2 separate regions of the Homo sapiens genome follow, and region 1 is linked to region 2. The links are contacts of gene promoters, found by promoter capture Hi-C in human tissues and cell types (Jung and others, 2019). All regions are on one chromosome and are shown on one strand. The core of a region is centred on a gene start or on the middle of the fragment in contact, and the rest is flanking DNA. Distances in the headings are between cores, read along the strand shown.

Evidence for each region. The method cuts DNA at HindIII sites, captures the fragments that hold promoters and counts their contacts. A contact is called where the count stands out against the background at its distance.
Region 1: a contact is called between a fragment that was not itself captured here and the fragment with the promoter of CTDP1 in region 2, in 2 of the 25 tissues and cell types used here (heart left ventricle and spleen).

The regions. Positions count from the first base shown.
Region 1 is chr18:79,805,155-79,811,901 of GRCh38, forward strand. The region is part of intron 1 of KCNG2 (potassium voltage-gated channel modifier subfamily G member 2); the gene reads left to right. Among named protein-coding and RNA genes, the nearest start is that of KCNG2, 11 kb to the left of the region's middle. The HindIII fragment of the contact is 3,330 bases long and covers 3,158-6,487 here.
Region 2 is chr18:79,675,205-79,682,238 of GRCh38, forward strand. It overlaps CTDP1 (CTD phosphatase subunit 1), which reads left to right and starts at 4,599. Exons shown (of 13, transcript NM_004715.5): 1 at 4,599-5,057. The coding sequence starts at 4,744. It overlaps CTDP1-DT (CTDP1 divergent transcript), which reads right to left and starts at 4,541. Exons shown (of 5, transcript NR_136643.1): 1 at 4,190-4,541. RefSeq lists enhancers at 3,724-4,231, 4,232-4,740, 6,356-6,864, 6,865-7,034. The HindIII fragment of the contact is 29,025 bases long and covers 1-7,034 here.

The DNA of each region.
Region 1 (6,747 bases), core at 3,573-6,072, 130 kb after region 2:
CTTTGCATATCGTCAAAAGTTAGAAACACTAAGGTCTTACACATTATGCCAGGTCGTTTCTCGGGAAAGCTGTGCCAGATGCATCCTTCTCATTCTCCGCCTCACCGCACTGCATTTCAGTGCTTTAACCTCTTCTCAATTTTCCAAATACATGGCTTTTTGCTGTAAAAGTGATACATGGTCATTAGGAAACACACGCGTGGCAGGAGGTGTAAGAGGAGGGCCTGCCGCGCACTCGGGATGAGGCCGGCACCTGCGGAGCTTCCTCCAGACTTGGGCCCTGCTGGCTGCACCCACACAAAAGTGCACTGGCTACAGGTCGAGTTTCTAGAAAACACTGCACTTGATGATGTCTGGCTAAGGCTGAATGTTTTTCTCCATTGCCTTTTTTTTTTCTTCTATCGTCTGTTTCTCAGTGATGATCTTAGTGGCTTCCTGTCTACTGTTTGTCACATTTCTCGCCTTCGGGTCTTCATTGTGGTCCTGGTGGCCATGTACCACCTGGCGCCCTGCAGGGCTGCAGCCTCTTCACCTGACGGCCTCATCCACCATGTGTGGTTGCAGGGCCAGAGGAAGTTAAATTAGCAGATGTTTCTGAGTGTGAGCTGGATTCTGTGCTGAGTTAGAGCTAGAAAAATGTCTCCACCTGCTAAAATCTAGAGTCTAGTTGTGGGGGAGGAGGAAATATAGACAGACGCAGGTCCACATGCACACACACACACACACGTGCACACACACGCGCCTAGGGGACAGGGCAGAGCCAAGAAAAAAGGAAAATGATGAGAGACTGGAGTGAAGGCCCCAGGGAGTGACAGGTGGATTGATCCAGCCAGGCCCGAGCTTGCATCTGTTCACACAGAGCTTTGGGACGTTAGGGTGACAGAGGAAGGAGGCGGCTGGGATAGCCCACACAGGTGGTGGGAGTCTGTCCTCTCCCTGCCAGGGTGCAGGACAGCAGGTCTCAATCTCGCCCAGTGGGACTCAGTGGTCCCTCATTCAAAGGGGCTGAGAGCCAGGCATCCAGCCCACGAAGCTCACATGGAAGCCACTGTGTGGTCTCAGGCAAGGCCGTCGTGCTGGGGGTTGGGGCGTGGGGCCATCAGCAAGCCCCTTGAGCGTTTGTGGTCTCAGGCAAGGCCGCTGTGTCGGGGGTCGGGGCATGGGGCCATCGGGAAGCCCCCTGAGCATTCATGGTCTCAGACAAGGCCGCTGTGTCAGGGTTTGGGGTGTGGGGCCATCAGCAAGCCCCCTGAGAGTTTGTAGTGGATGGTCTCATGGGTGTTTCTTGAACCGTGCTCTGCATGGCCTGCGACATGGTCTCACTGGTTGCTGGGGGCCCCTGAGTTATGGAAATTATTCTAGGATCCTTCAAATGCTTCAGTTAACTCCAGCCAGGCCTTGAGAAGAAAGCACTTTAGAATGAGAGGTTGTCTTTTATCTCTCAAATGATGGTTTTTAGAAAAAAATTGGTAAAATTAATACTTGCTAGGAGGAAGCATCAGAACATGGATTCTCTAACTCTTCCTTAGGGTGTTTTGATTTACTGATGAATTGGCCTCTTTCTCTCCTTTTTAGTGCATGAAGCTTTCCTTTTTAGACTGTAATGGTGACGCTTTCTCAAATAAAACCAGAACTAAGGGCTTCAAAACCACTCCACGCAAAATTAATAAAGAAGAAAATAACATTCTTTCCATTTCATTTCAAGGGCAGTTTTCAAAAATCTGCATTGACTTAAGGCTAGAAAGAGAAAATGCATACATGGAATTTTCTTTCCACCCTTACTCATGGATCTAGGGTCTGTGTGGGGTCTCAGATTTCCACCAGGGGCAAACTTCCTCATCTTTCTTCATGTTTAAATGTTAGAAATAGCCTGAAGCCTTGGGCTGCAGAGAGCTCAGGGGCACCTTTGAGCTGGACAGACCTCTGTGGAGGAGAAAACTGACCCCGGGAGGGTTTGGTCTGGCCAGCGAGGGTCAGCACCCACCTCAGCCTGCCTGCATCTGTCTGCACCTCAGGGTCACACATGCAGATGGACTGAGGGTTCCGAGTGGGTGGCTCAGGGATACTGGGAGCTCGTCGCGTAGTCTGATGTTTTTGCATGAAAGTGAGGTCCTCTGAGGGAGATGCACCGTCTGAGCCTGTTCGTGTTGGGGTGCCGCGAGCAAACCTCACGCCCTCCTCACCTTGCCGACGCTCTCTGCATCTGCCCCAGGACATAGATGATGAGCCTTTCTGCTCTACCGTAAACACCCGAGCACCCAGCGCCCTCACAAGAGAAGCAAGCGCTCAGTGACCACCTCAGCGGCGCGGACTGCTCTGACACGTCACCCCACCGGGATTTTTAGAACGCCTCTGCGCTCGTGCATTCACTCCATTTTACAGATGAGAAACTGGTGTGACTCCCATGTACGTGGCCCAGGCTCACTAATTCTCTCTTCTTAATGCTCTCACGCCTGGGCCAGCCCTTCCTCCCTCCCGCCGCAGCACACGCTGAAGAAACAAGTCCAGCTGTGAAGCCCCCACCTCAGCCTCGGCCCCAGAGTCCGCACTCTGAGAAGTTGCTCCGGCGCCACTGACGGGCACTCCATGTTATATGCCCAGAGTCCTCGCCCTGAGGAGCTGCCGGGGCCGCGCTGACCACACTCCACGTTATGGGCCCAGAGTCCGCGCTCTGAGGAGCTGCCGGGGCCGCGCTGACCACACTCCACGTTATGGGCCCAGAGTCCGCGCTCTGAGGAGCTGCCGGGGCCGCGCTGACCACACTCCACGTTATGGGCCCAGAGTCCTCGCCCTGAGGAGCTGCCGGGGCCGCGCTGACCACACTCCACGTTATGGGCCCAGAGTCCGCGCTCTGAGGAGCTGCCGGGGCCGCGCTGACCACACTCCACGTTACGGTCCCAGAGTCCTCGCCCTGAGGAGCTGCCGGGGCCGCGCTGACCACACTCCACGTTATGGGCCCAGAGTCCGCGCTCTGAGGAGCTGCCGGGGACACACTGACCACACTCCACGTTATGGGCCCAGAGTCCTCGCCCTGAGGAGCTGCCGGGGCCTCGCTGACCACACTCCACGTTATGGGCCCAGAGTCCGCGCTCTGAGAAGCTGCCGGGGACACACTGACCACACTCCACGTTATGGGCCCAGAGTCCGCGCTCTGAGGAGCTGCCGGGGCCTCGCTGACCACACTCCACGTTATGGGCCCAGAGTCCGCGCTCTGAGAAGCTGCCGGGGACACACTGACCACACTCCACGTTATGGGCCCAGAGTCCGCGCTCTGAGGAGCTGCCGGGGACACACTGACCACACTCCACGTTATGGGCCCAGAGTCCGCGCTCTGAGGAGCTGCCGGGGCCTCGCTGACCACACTCCACGTTATGGGCCCAGAGTCCGCGCTCTGAGGAGCTGCCGGGGACACACTGACCACACTCCACGTTATGGGCCCAGAGTCCGCGCTCTGAGGAGCTGCCGGGGCCTCGCTGACCACACTCCACGTTATGGGCCCAGAGTCCGCGCTCTGAGAAGCTGCCGGGGACACACTGACCACACTCCACGTTATGGGCCCAGAGTCCGCGCTCTGAGGAGCTGCCGGGGACACACTGACCACACTCCACGTTATGGGCCCAGAGTCCGCGCTCTGAGGAGCTGCCGGGGCCTCGCTGACCACACTCCACGTTATGGGCCCAGAGTCCGCGCTCTGAGGAGCTGCCGGGGACACACTGACCACACTCCACGTTATGGGCCCAGAGTCCGCGCTCTGAGAAGCTGCCAGGGACACACTGACCACACTCCACGTTATGGGCCCAGAGTCCGCGCTCTGAGGAGCTGCCGGGGCCTCGCTGACCACACTCCACGTTATGGGCCCAGAGTCCGCGCTCTGAGGAGCTGCCGGGGCCTCGCTGACCACACTCCACGTTATGGGCCCAGAGTCCGCGCTCTGAGGAGCTGCCGGGGCCTCGCTGACCACACTCCACGTTATGGGCCCAGAGTCCGCGCTCTGAGGAGCTGCCGGGGCCGCGCTGACCACACTCCACGTTATGGGCCCAGAGTCCGCGCTCTGAGGAGCTGCCGGGGCCGCGCTGACCACACTCCACGTTATGGGCCCAGAGTCCGCGCTCTGAGGAGCTGCCGGGGACACACTGACCACACTCCACGTTATGGGCCCAGAGTCCGCGCTCTGAGGAGCTGCCGGGGACACACTGACCACACTCCACGTTATGGGCCCAGAGTCCTCGCTCTGAGGAGCTGCCGGGGACACACTGACCACACTCCACGTTACGGTCCCAGAGTCCTCGCCCTGAGGAGCTGCCGGGGCCGCGCTGACCACACTCCACGTTATGGGCCCAGAGTCCGCGCTCTGAGGAGCTGCCGGGGCCGCGCTGACCACACTCCACGTTACCGGCCCAGAGTCCGCGCTCTGAGGAGCTGCCGGGGCCTCACTGACCACACTCCACGTTACGGTCCCAGAGTCCTCGCCCTGAGGAGCTGCCGGGGCCTCACTGACCACACCACGTTCCGGGTGCCCAGCGCACCTGCCGCTTATGCAGCTTTCGGTTCTAAACCTCGCTCCCCAGAAGGCAATCTTCACGCCCACTCAAGACGTACTTTTCGGATGCTGCAGCCCAGGCGTCCTACTGCACACTAGGAGCTGTGGTCACCTCGTCCAGAAAAAACAAGAATGTGGCCAAATGCCCGTGGCTGCCCTCTGCGTCTCCTTCATTGTTGCCGGTTTTAAAGCTTCTCCTCCCACTATCGTGACGCTCCAACTTTCCGGGGCTCATGGGGTTGTGGGGCTGGTGGGCGGAGTCCTGTGCTCATTGGCGTTTGGCTGTGGGTTCTGGTCTCAGCGCCGTCCACAGGGCCAGCCTCGCGGAGCCGCCCGCCCATTGCGCTGGGCCTGGGTGGAAGGGCCGATGAGGATGAAACCTCGAGGGAGCATCCCTCAGAACCTGTGTCAGCACCCAGCTGGGCTTCTCATGTGCAAAGGCAGAATCTGATTTAAAAGCCAGGGAAGATGGAGGCGGTGGGAGGGGGGAGTGGGTAATAGTCTAAAGGAAAAAAATCAGGTGAAAGGGACAAAAAGAGAAACTTGAAAAGGAAGCCTTGGAAAAGAGAGAAGAGAGGGTGGACAAAGAGGACCAAGATGAGACTGGAGAATTTCTGATCAGTGGGGAGGGGGGAAGCACCACGCCTAGTCCCGGAGGGGGTTTGCTGGGGGCTGCCCAGCACAGCTCTACAGGGCAGGCAAACCCAGCTTTGGTCCCATCTCATGTCAAATACTGATGCCGAGTGCTGGTGAGTAAAGGCAGGAAACGTAGAAATCAAAAATTAAAAAACAAAGTAGCCAGATGCAGTGGCTCATGCCTAGAATCCCAGCACTGTGGGAGGCTAAGGTGGAAAGATCACCTCAGAAATTTAAGACCAGCTTGGGGAACATAGCAAGACCCTGTCTCTAAAAAAAAAGAATTAACCAGGTGTGCTGGCACAGGCCTGTAGTTGCAGCTACTTGGGATGCTGAGGTGGGAGGATCACTTGAGCTCAGGAGTTTGAAGCTGCAGTGAGCTACAATCACACCATCACACTCCAGTCTGGGTGACAGAGTGAGATGCTGTATAAAAAGACAAAACAAACCAAAAAACGTAGAAAAAAACTAGAAGTAAATATATGCACAGTCTCTGAATGATGAGGACTGTCCAACCTTAGAAGCATGAGTCAGGCTCTTCTCAAAAACAAAAACAAACCAGAACTTAGAGTCAAACAATACTCAAAACTCAGCGTGTTGTTGTATACTAGCAATGAAAAACCTGGAAAGGAAATTAGGAAGACAATTTACTATAGCATCAAAAAGAGTAAAACCCCTAGCAAGAAATGTAACCAAAGAGGTGTAAGACTTGTATGCTGAGAACTACAGAACATTGCTGAAAGAAATTACAGACCTAAAGAAATGGAAAGACATCCCATGTTCACGGATAGGAAGACTTAACATTGTTAAGGTGGCAATACTCCCAAACTGATCTATAGATTCAATACAATTCCTATCAAAATCCTAGCTGACTTTTTGCAGAAATGGACAAGCTGATGCTAAAATTCATATGGAATTACAAGGGACCAAAGTAAGTGAAAAAAATCTTTAAAAAGAACAAAGTTGGAGTTCTCACACTATTTATTAAAACTTACTACAAAGCTACAGTAAGCAAAATAGTGTGGTATTGGCATAAGGAGAGACATATTGATCAATGGAATACAATTGCAATTCTAGAAATAAACCTATACATCTGTGGTCAGCTGACTTTTGATGAGAGTGCCAAGACCATGCAATGGAGAAAGAATAGTCTCTTCAGCAGATGGTGCTGGGACAACTGGATTCCACATACAAGAGAATAAATATCCAAAATGTCCATGATACAATAAAAAAAAGTCACTCACCAAGAACCAAGAAAACCAGAACATAAATGAAAAAAGACAATTAACAGACACCAACATCAAGCTGAATCAGATGTTGGTTTATATGACTACTATTTTAAAGTAGGCTTCACCAATCAACGATGGGTTTAAAATGCTTCACCAATCATGTATTTTCCTGAAACAAATGAAGGAATAGAAAATCTTAGCAAAGAAATGAAAGATATAAAAAAGAAAAAGATGAAATCACGTAACTGAAATATATAACAACAGTTTTTTAAACTCTGACTGCATGGGGTGAACAGTAAAGGGGAGATCACGCTGGATGGAATTAGTGAACCTGACCCACAG
Region 2 (7,034 bases), core at 3,349-5,848:
AACCTATGCACACCCTCCTGCATCCTTTAAATCGTCACTAGATTACTTATAATAGCTAATGCAAAGTAAATGCTATGTAAATAGTTGTTACACTATATTGTTTAGAGAACAATGAGAAGGAAAGTCTGTACATGTTCAGCATGGGCACATTTTTTTAATAAAAATATTTTCAATCCCTGGCTGGTTACATCCAGGGATGCAAAACCCATCGATAGAGTGCTGACTGTATATCCTCTTCAGAGAAGTGTCTGTTGAAGTCCCTTGCTCATTTTTAAATGAGGTGACTTGTTTTACTGTTGAGTGGTGGTTGTCTATATATTCCAGATATTAACCCCTTATCAGATATATGATTTGCAGATATTTTCTCACATTCCACAGGTTACCTTTTCCCTGCACAGAAGGGAAAGGTTGATTGTGTCCTTCGATGCACAGAAGTTTCTAAGCCTGATGTCGTCTTAGTTTTACTTTTGTTGCCCGTGTCTTTGGTGTCATATCCAATAAATCACTGCTAAATCCAATGTCATAAATTTTTCCCGTTTTCTTCTAGAAATTGTATACCTTTATTTCTTGTTTAGTCTTTAATCCACTGAGTTTTCACATAAGGTGTCAGATAAGGGTCTTGGGGGCCACATGTTGGCCTGTGCAACAGTTAAAGGGCCCCAAGCATAGTCACATACGTGCAGATGATGTTCACACACAGATACCCAGGCCCAGGAGATCTTGGACTCCCCAAGGCCATATTCTATTCCTACAACTGCTGTCCTTCCCCTTAACCTCCTTTTGTTCTGGCCTTGCTAGCACAGACCCTTGCATGCTAATCAAATGACACAGTTGAGTTTGGAGGAAACATACATCAGTGAGGAAAAGTGACCACAGAATCCTTCCAGGTTTCACCAAAACCACCCGTGACGTAGATAAAACTAGAATTCTGGGGACTGGGATTCCTCCTTTTCCCCTGAGCCACTACGTAAAGGTGACTGCATTACAGTCCCATACCTCTTATCTGTGGCCCCAGTATCCATTTTTTTTAAGACAGGGTCTCGCTCTGTTGCTCAGACTGGAGGACAGTGGTGCAATCACAGCTCACTGCAGCCTTGACCTCCTAGGCTCAATGGATCCTCCCACCTCAGCCTCCTGAGTAGCTGGGACTCCAGACAGGTGCACACCACCACACTCAGCTAATTTTTTGTAGAAATGAGGTCTCACTATGTTGCCCAGGTTGGTCTTGAACTCCCGGGCTCAAGTGATCCACCTGTCTCAGCCTCTCAAAGTGCTGGGATTACAGGCATGAGTCACAGTGCCTGGCCCAAATTCATAGTCCTAAACATGGAAAGTTTTGTGTACTTCATTTGGCGGAAAGTCTAACCTGATTTGGCACGAGACGACCCATGATCCTTTTCGTCCTGCTTGTATTTTGCTGCAGGAATATCAGTTTGATGAGGGTGTTGCCCCAGGCCCCAAGTGGAATATGCACACGTCACTTTCCTAAAATCAGAACAATTCAGAGTTCTGAAACACACGAAACACAGCTGTTTCTAAGATTCTTGACTAAGAGGTTGTGGCTTATGCTATTTTTCCTGACTGTGGCCTCACTTTCTTCCCAATAAATGTTTCAATCTGTTGATACTAATGTTTTTTCTCATGATACTTGTAAGATAACTGATTTTAACAAAAGGTGGCACACCTATTAAAGACATGGTTAAGTTTCATTGGCTGTATAGCATCTCTAATTGGAAGACTACATGGCATCTATCCAGGTTGGAGTTGTAATCACCTAGGGATGTCTACATCTGTCTACCTAGATCAGTCTGTCAGTTCCATCGAGGTCTGTATTTCAAAGTCCATACATAACACACGGTTCTTCCCATTTTACAGAATTATTTTTTCAAACCAAAGTTCACATACTGCTGGTGGGAACAGGTTCAAATAGGGAATGCTGATACATATCAACAACCTTTGAGACAAACCTGTTCACACAGTGAGTGTGGAGCCCTTGGCCCCCCTACTTTCTCTCTCGCAGGCCCCGACATCACCCTGGGCTTGCGCTGTTGGTAGTGTTCAAAGGAAAACTTTAGAAACATTAAATTTTACAGAGTTTAATTGAGCAAAGAATGATTCAGGAATCAGGGAACCCCTCAAACCAGAATAGGCTCAGAGAGACTCCAGTGCCACTGTGTGGCCAAAGACTTACGGACAGAAAAGGGAGTGAGGCACAGAAGGCAGAGGTGAGGCCTGCAAACAGCAGGGTGGCTACAGCTCGTGTCTGGCTTATTGAAACAGAGTTTGAAGTGCTGCTGCCTGTGACTGATTCAAGAGTAGGTTACAGTGTCCACACATCCAATTAGATGACTGTTCACTACGTATGGAGAAACCTATAGGCTAAACTTACAGTATGTAAGGAGGCGGCTTCAGGCTACAGCTGAGTAGTGTGTCCTTACAGTTGGAACCAGGAGTTCATGGGAATTCTTCATCATCCAGTGGTCTGTAAATGTTGCCCATGCTGAGTAGTCTGTCCTTACAGTGTGAACCAGGGGTTCATGGGAATTCTTCACCATCCAGTAGTCTGTAAATGTTGCCCATGCTGAGTAGTGTGTCCTTACAGTGTGAACCAGGGGTTCATGGGAATTCTTCACCATCCAGTGGTCTGTAAATGTTGCCCATGCTTTAGTTTTGTTACCTGGTTGCTCTGTTTTTATGGGATTGTGAGAAACTGAAAAACTGTGACTGCTGGAGCCATTTTCCCACAATCCCCATTTTTTAAAAATCCCATAAAGGCTCTCTCGTGAGCACCGCACGTTTTCCCTTGTAGTCACGAGGGTAGGGGCTGGAGAAAGCAGCAGAGATAGTCAAAAACCCACAGCTACAAAAAATGCACTCCTAAGAGCAAGTAATGGCGAGGGCTAAAAGGCACTGTGCCCCTTCTGGGCCATTCTAATTACCACATTTAAATGGTTTTGAGAAAAGAGAATTTTTATCTGAGGAACGCGAGTTCTTTTAATTATCAGGCCGAGAGAGACATTCAAATGAGGCGACAATCGCGCCCTACTACCCCTTGACCTGTGTTCACCTCTTTAAACTGCTACTGGTGGCAACAGCGCCACAAACAGCTATAAATTAACCTAATGACGCCACAATGGACACTATACCCACACTCAATAGCTGAACAACATATAGTCAGTCACTAATCAATGTTATTTCTGTAAACCAGTGAGAATTCCTCACAAACAAGTTCCTATTAGTCCACTCCCTGGCCCCCTTTTTTGCCTTTAAAATCCACTGTTAACTGCTAATCGGAGTACACATTCAGGGCGCCTTGAATTTGTGCTCAAGTGTGGCCCAAATAAACTCTCTACTTAGAGAAACTGTGTCTCCGCTCGTTTTCAGGCCGACAGTTTCCAAAATGTTAGTATTCAGCCTAACATGAGAAAAGTCACCATATAAAAGTGAGGGGGGAAAAGCAAATACAGGATAATCTCAATTGTATATAAAATTTATATACGTAAGGACAAAGATACATAGTAAAAAAAAAATTCTGGCAGGTATTAAGGCTGAAAAAATTAAAACAGTCCAGAGCGGTCTGGCTCAGGCCAGCCTGGGCCTGCCGAGTAGCTGGGACCTCAGCCACCGCGCCTGGCTAAGTATTAATGAATCTGTTTTAGAGATAGGGTCTTGCTACGTTGCGCAGGCTGGTCTCCAACTCCCAGGCTCAGGTGATCCGCCCGCCACAGCCTCCCGAAGTGCTGAGCCTCCCAAAGTGCTGAGACTACAGGCCTGGCCGCCCGCCCGCCAGCTTAATTCACGTAAATTCCAGACAAACGTAGAAAGTGGCTCCTTTAGTAAGCCACTTGCGGCTGCTGCTCATCAGGGTTCGCCTGGGGCCACTGAGACCACGCGCCGGTGCCCGCCCTCCCGCTGCGGTCCGATTTTCTGAACCAACCAGGCGCTTCCGGGCGCCTTGCCCCAGACGGGCCCACCGCCTGCGCGGGCCGAGGGCGGCGCACCTGCCCCTGCGCTTCCGCATCGAAGGTGAGGTCGGAGGAAGAGAAGACCGCAACCCCCAAGCTCCCGCGGCGTGGGGTCCGGGGGGGGACACGAGGCGGGGCCACCAGGACGCCGACAGCCTCACGTCTCTGGGCCCGCGGCGCGCAAGGCATGCCGGGACCCGTAGTCCCGCGACGTTGCGACTCACAGTGCGCGATGGGAGTGGAGGAGAGCGGCTCGCGGTGCATGCCGGAACTCGTAGTCTCGGGATGCTGGGTCTCAGCGCGTGATGGGGTAATGGCACGCAGGCCTGCGTTGAACGCTGGGACTCGTAGTCCCGCCATGCTCTGTCCGCGGTGCACGCCGGGATACGTAGTTCCGAGCGCGCCAAGACCGTCACTGGGACTGGGCGACAGCGGCCCGCGTTGCATGCCGCTGCTCCACGGTGCCGGCGCTCCGAGGAAAAGTAGGTAGGGCTCAGGAACGCAGTTCTTCACGGCCGGCACGCAGGGTTGGTCCCAGGACGGAGCCGGCTCCGGCCCCGCGCGGCGCTCGTATTTACACGCGCACGTACGCACGTACGCGGCGCCCTTGCGTGACGTCACGCGCCCTCCAGGAAGTCGGCGCGGGCTAGGCGACGGGTGGAAGCCGGTACCGAGAGGAACTACAGCGTCGCCGCCTGGGTTGTGTCGCCGCGGTAGGCGCTGCGCTCTGAGCGCAGCGCAGGCCCCGTACCGACCGCCCGCCCGCCCTCTGTCCGCGATGGAGGTGCCGGCCGCGGGTCGCGTTCCTGCCGAGGGCGCCCCGACGGCGGCTGTGGCCGAGGTGCGCTGCCCGGGGCCCGCGCCGCTGCGCCTGCTGGAGTGGAGGGTGGCGGCGGGCGCGGCCGTGCGCATCGGCTCGGTGCTGGCCGTGTTCGAGGCCGCCGCCTCCGCGCAGTCCTCCGGGGCCTCTCAGTCCCGTGTAGCCTCCGGGGGCTGCGTGCGCCCCGCGCGGCCGGAACGCAGGCTGAGGTCGGAGCGCGCGGGCGTGGTGCGGGAGCTGTGCGCGCAGCCGGGCCAGGTGGTCGCCCCAGGGTGAGTGTGCTGAGCCGGGCGGGGCCGAGGGCGGGCGGCTCCGGGGAGGGATCCTGGAGGACCCCCGGGCTGCTGCGTCCGCGGTGGGCAGGGGCGCCCCTGGTGAGGGAGCGATAAAGCGGGACGCAGGCACTGCGCTTCTCCCCTAAAACTGGATAGTCACCACCTGTGGTTTTACCAACGGGGAGCATTTTGAGATAAAAGGAAAGGGTCCTGCGTAGCGACACGAAGTTACTGTTTGGAAAAGCTATGTTTGTTTCTTTCTTTCTGCAGTGATAGTCCCCGCCCCTTCCTTTAGCTCCACCTTTGTGACTTAGGAAAACTCATGGGTGGCTGTGAGCACAAGAGTCATCAGGCAGGCTCCAGACCTGTTATTGAAATATAAACTGTTGGGTGTGTGCACATCTTTAAATTTTTGTAAACTTTGTGAAACGCAGTTGTAAAACCTGGTGCAGTTCTGTTTCGTGGCTAAGGAACGGGCGGAACCCAGGCCTGCAGCGAAGGCAGTAGCCCCGTGGTTGACCACAGTGGGCATTGTCGCAGGCTGCTTCAGGGTGACGTGGGCGTTGTGACAGACTCCACAGCTCTCAGTAGCTGTGCTCTGACCCCAGAAGGGGATATGTTTCCGTAGCACCGAAGTGTCCAGCCATGTTTGAATCTACCCTTGTGTTCTGGGATGGGCGGGCAAGTGGACACGCGTGTGCGCCTGGCTCTGGTAGTTTTGATTGTGAGAACAGAAACTCCAGGGAGAGGTGGACACTCCAGCCCGCAGTGGGCCGGGCGTGAGCTCCCTCTGGGAAAGGTGCCGCTCCTTCTGGGGATGCCACTCTCTTCCCTCCTCGGCAGCCGCGGCTCCTCGTCCCTTTGGCTTGCCCTGACCCTGTGTTTGTTGAGGATCTTCTCTGCATCTGGTTCCGCAAGAGTGAGGACTGGGACAGGAGTCTTCCCGTCACAGCCCCAGAACGTCCTGGCTCCGCTTCCTTTGGAGACAGAGCCTGGGTCCTTGACCCTCGGCACGGGCACTCACTCCTGCCCCCTGCGTGCTGGTGGGTGGGGCTGGGAGGTTCAGGGCCTTGCCTCCCAGAAAATGCCTTCACGGCTTCCTCAGTGGGCACTGGCCGTACCTGGGAGGATTGTGGAGGCAGATCCCAATGCTGGTGTATTCCCTGGACAGAAAACCCCAGGATGGAAGATCCCTACTGAGGTTTCATTCTGTTCCTCTGATTGTACAGAAAGGGCTGCTTTGGCCTAGACAGGTGAGTAACTTGGTTATGTGGCAAGTTAGTATTGAAATTCCATGTTCAGTCAGTCTAGTGAATAAAACCAACCCAGTGCATCAGTCAGTCAGCCAGCCAGGTCATGAGCTTGATGACGGGTTCCCAGCAGTCAGTAGTGTTTACAGGGAGGTGCTGTTTGAGATCTTGGGGTACCTCACAGGGCCCTTTGAGACACTGATGTGATATCATTTCTCCTCAGATGGAGCGTCTGTGTGGCACCAGGTGTCCCTCTGGTTCCAGGAGGCTCATCTCTCTGCCTCCAGTCCATGGGCGGCAGGTAAATCCTTGCCTTAGAGAAAGCCACAGACGGTGCTGCCTGGAATTTGAGGTGGCTTCTTCCCCGTTTCTGTGTACTCCTGTGGGTTTGTGTACATGGGTTTTATGAGCGTTCTGGGGAGTGTGGTGGTGGTGGTGTGACGTCAGCATTTCCGGAGGTGTTCCTGCCCGTGCAGTGGGCGTGGGTGCCATAGATCCAGGAAGGAGCGACTGGAAGGGCTTTAGTCTAAAGCCCTGTGTGCATGTGCCCTGGCAGTTCTGGTCGTCTGTTTGGAATCAGGTTCCTGCCTCGCAGTTGCATTAGCCAGCTGAATTCGGGAGGTGCATTTGCAGCAGGAGTCCATGCTGCTGACGGTCGGCTCCGTGTGGTCCAGATGACACTGCCCTGGCTCTGGGGGGCTGCCGTTGGGAGCCGGTATGTGTT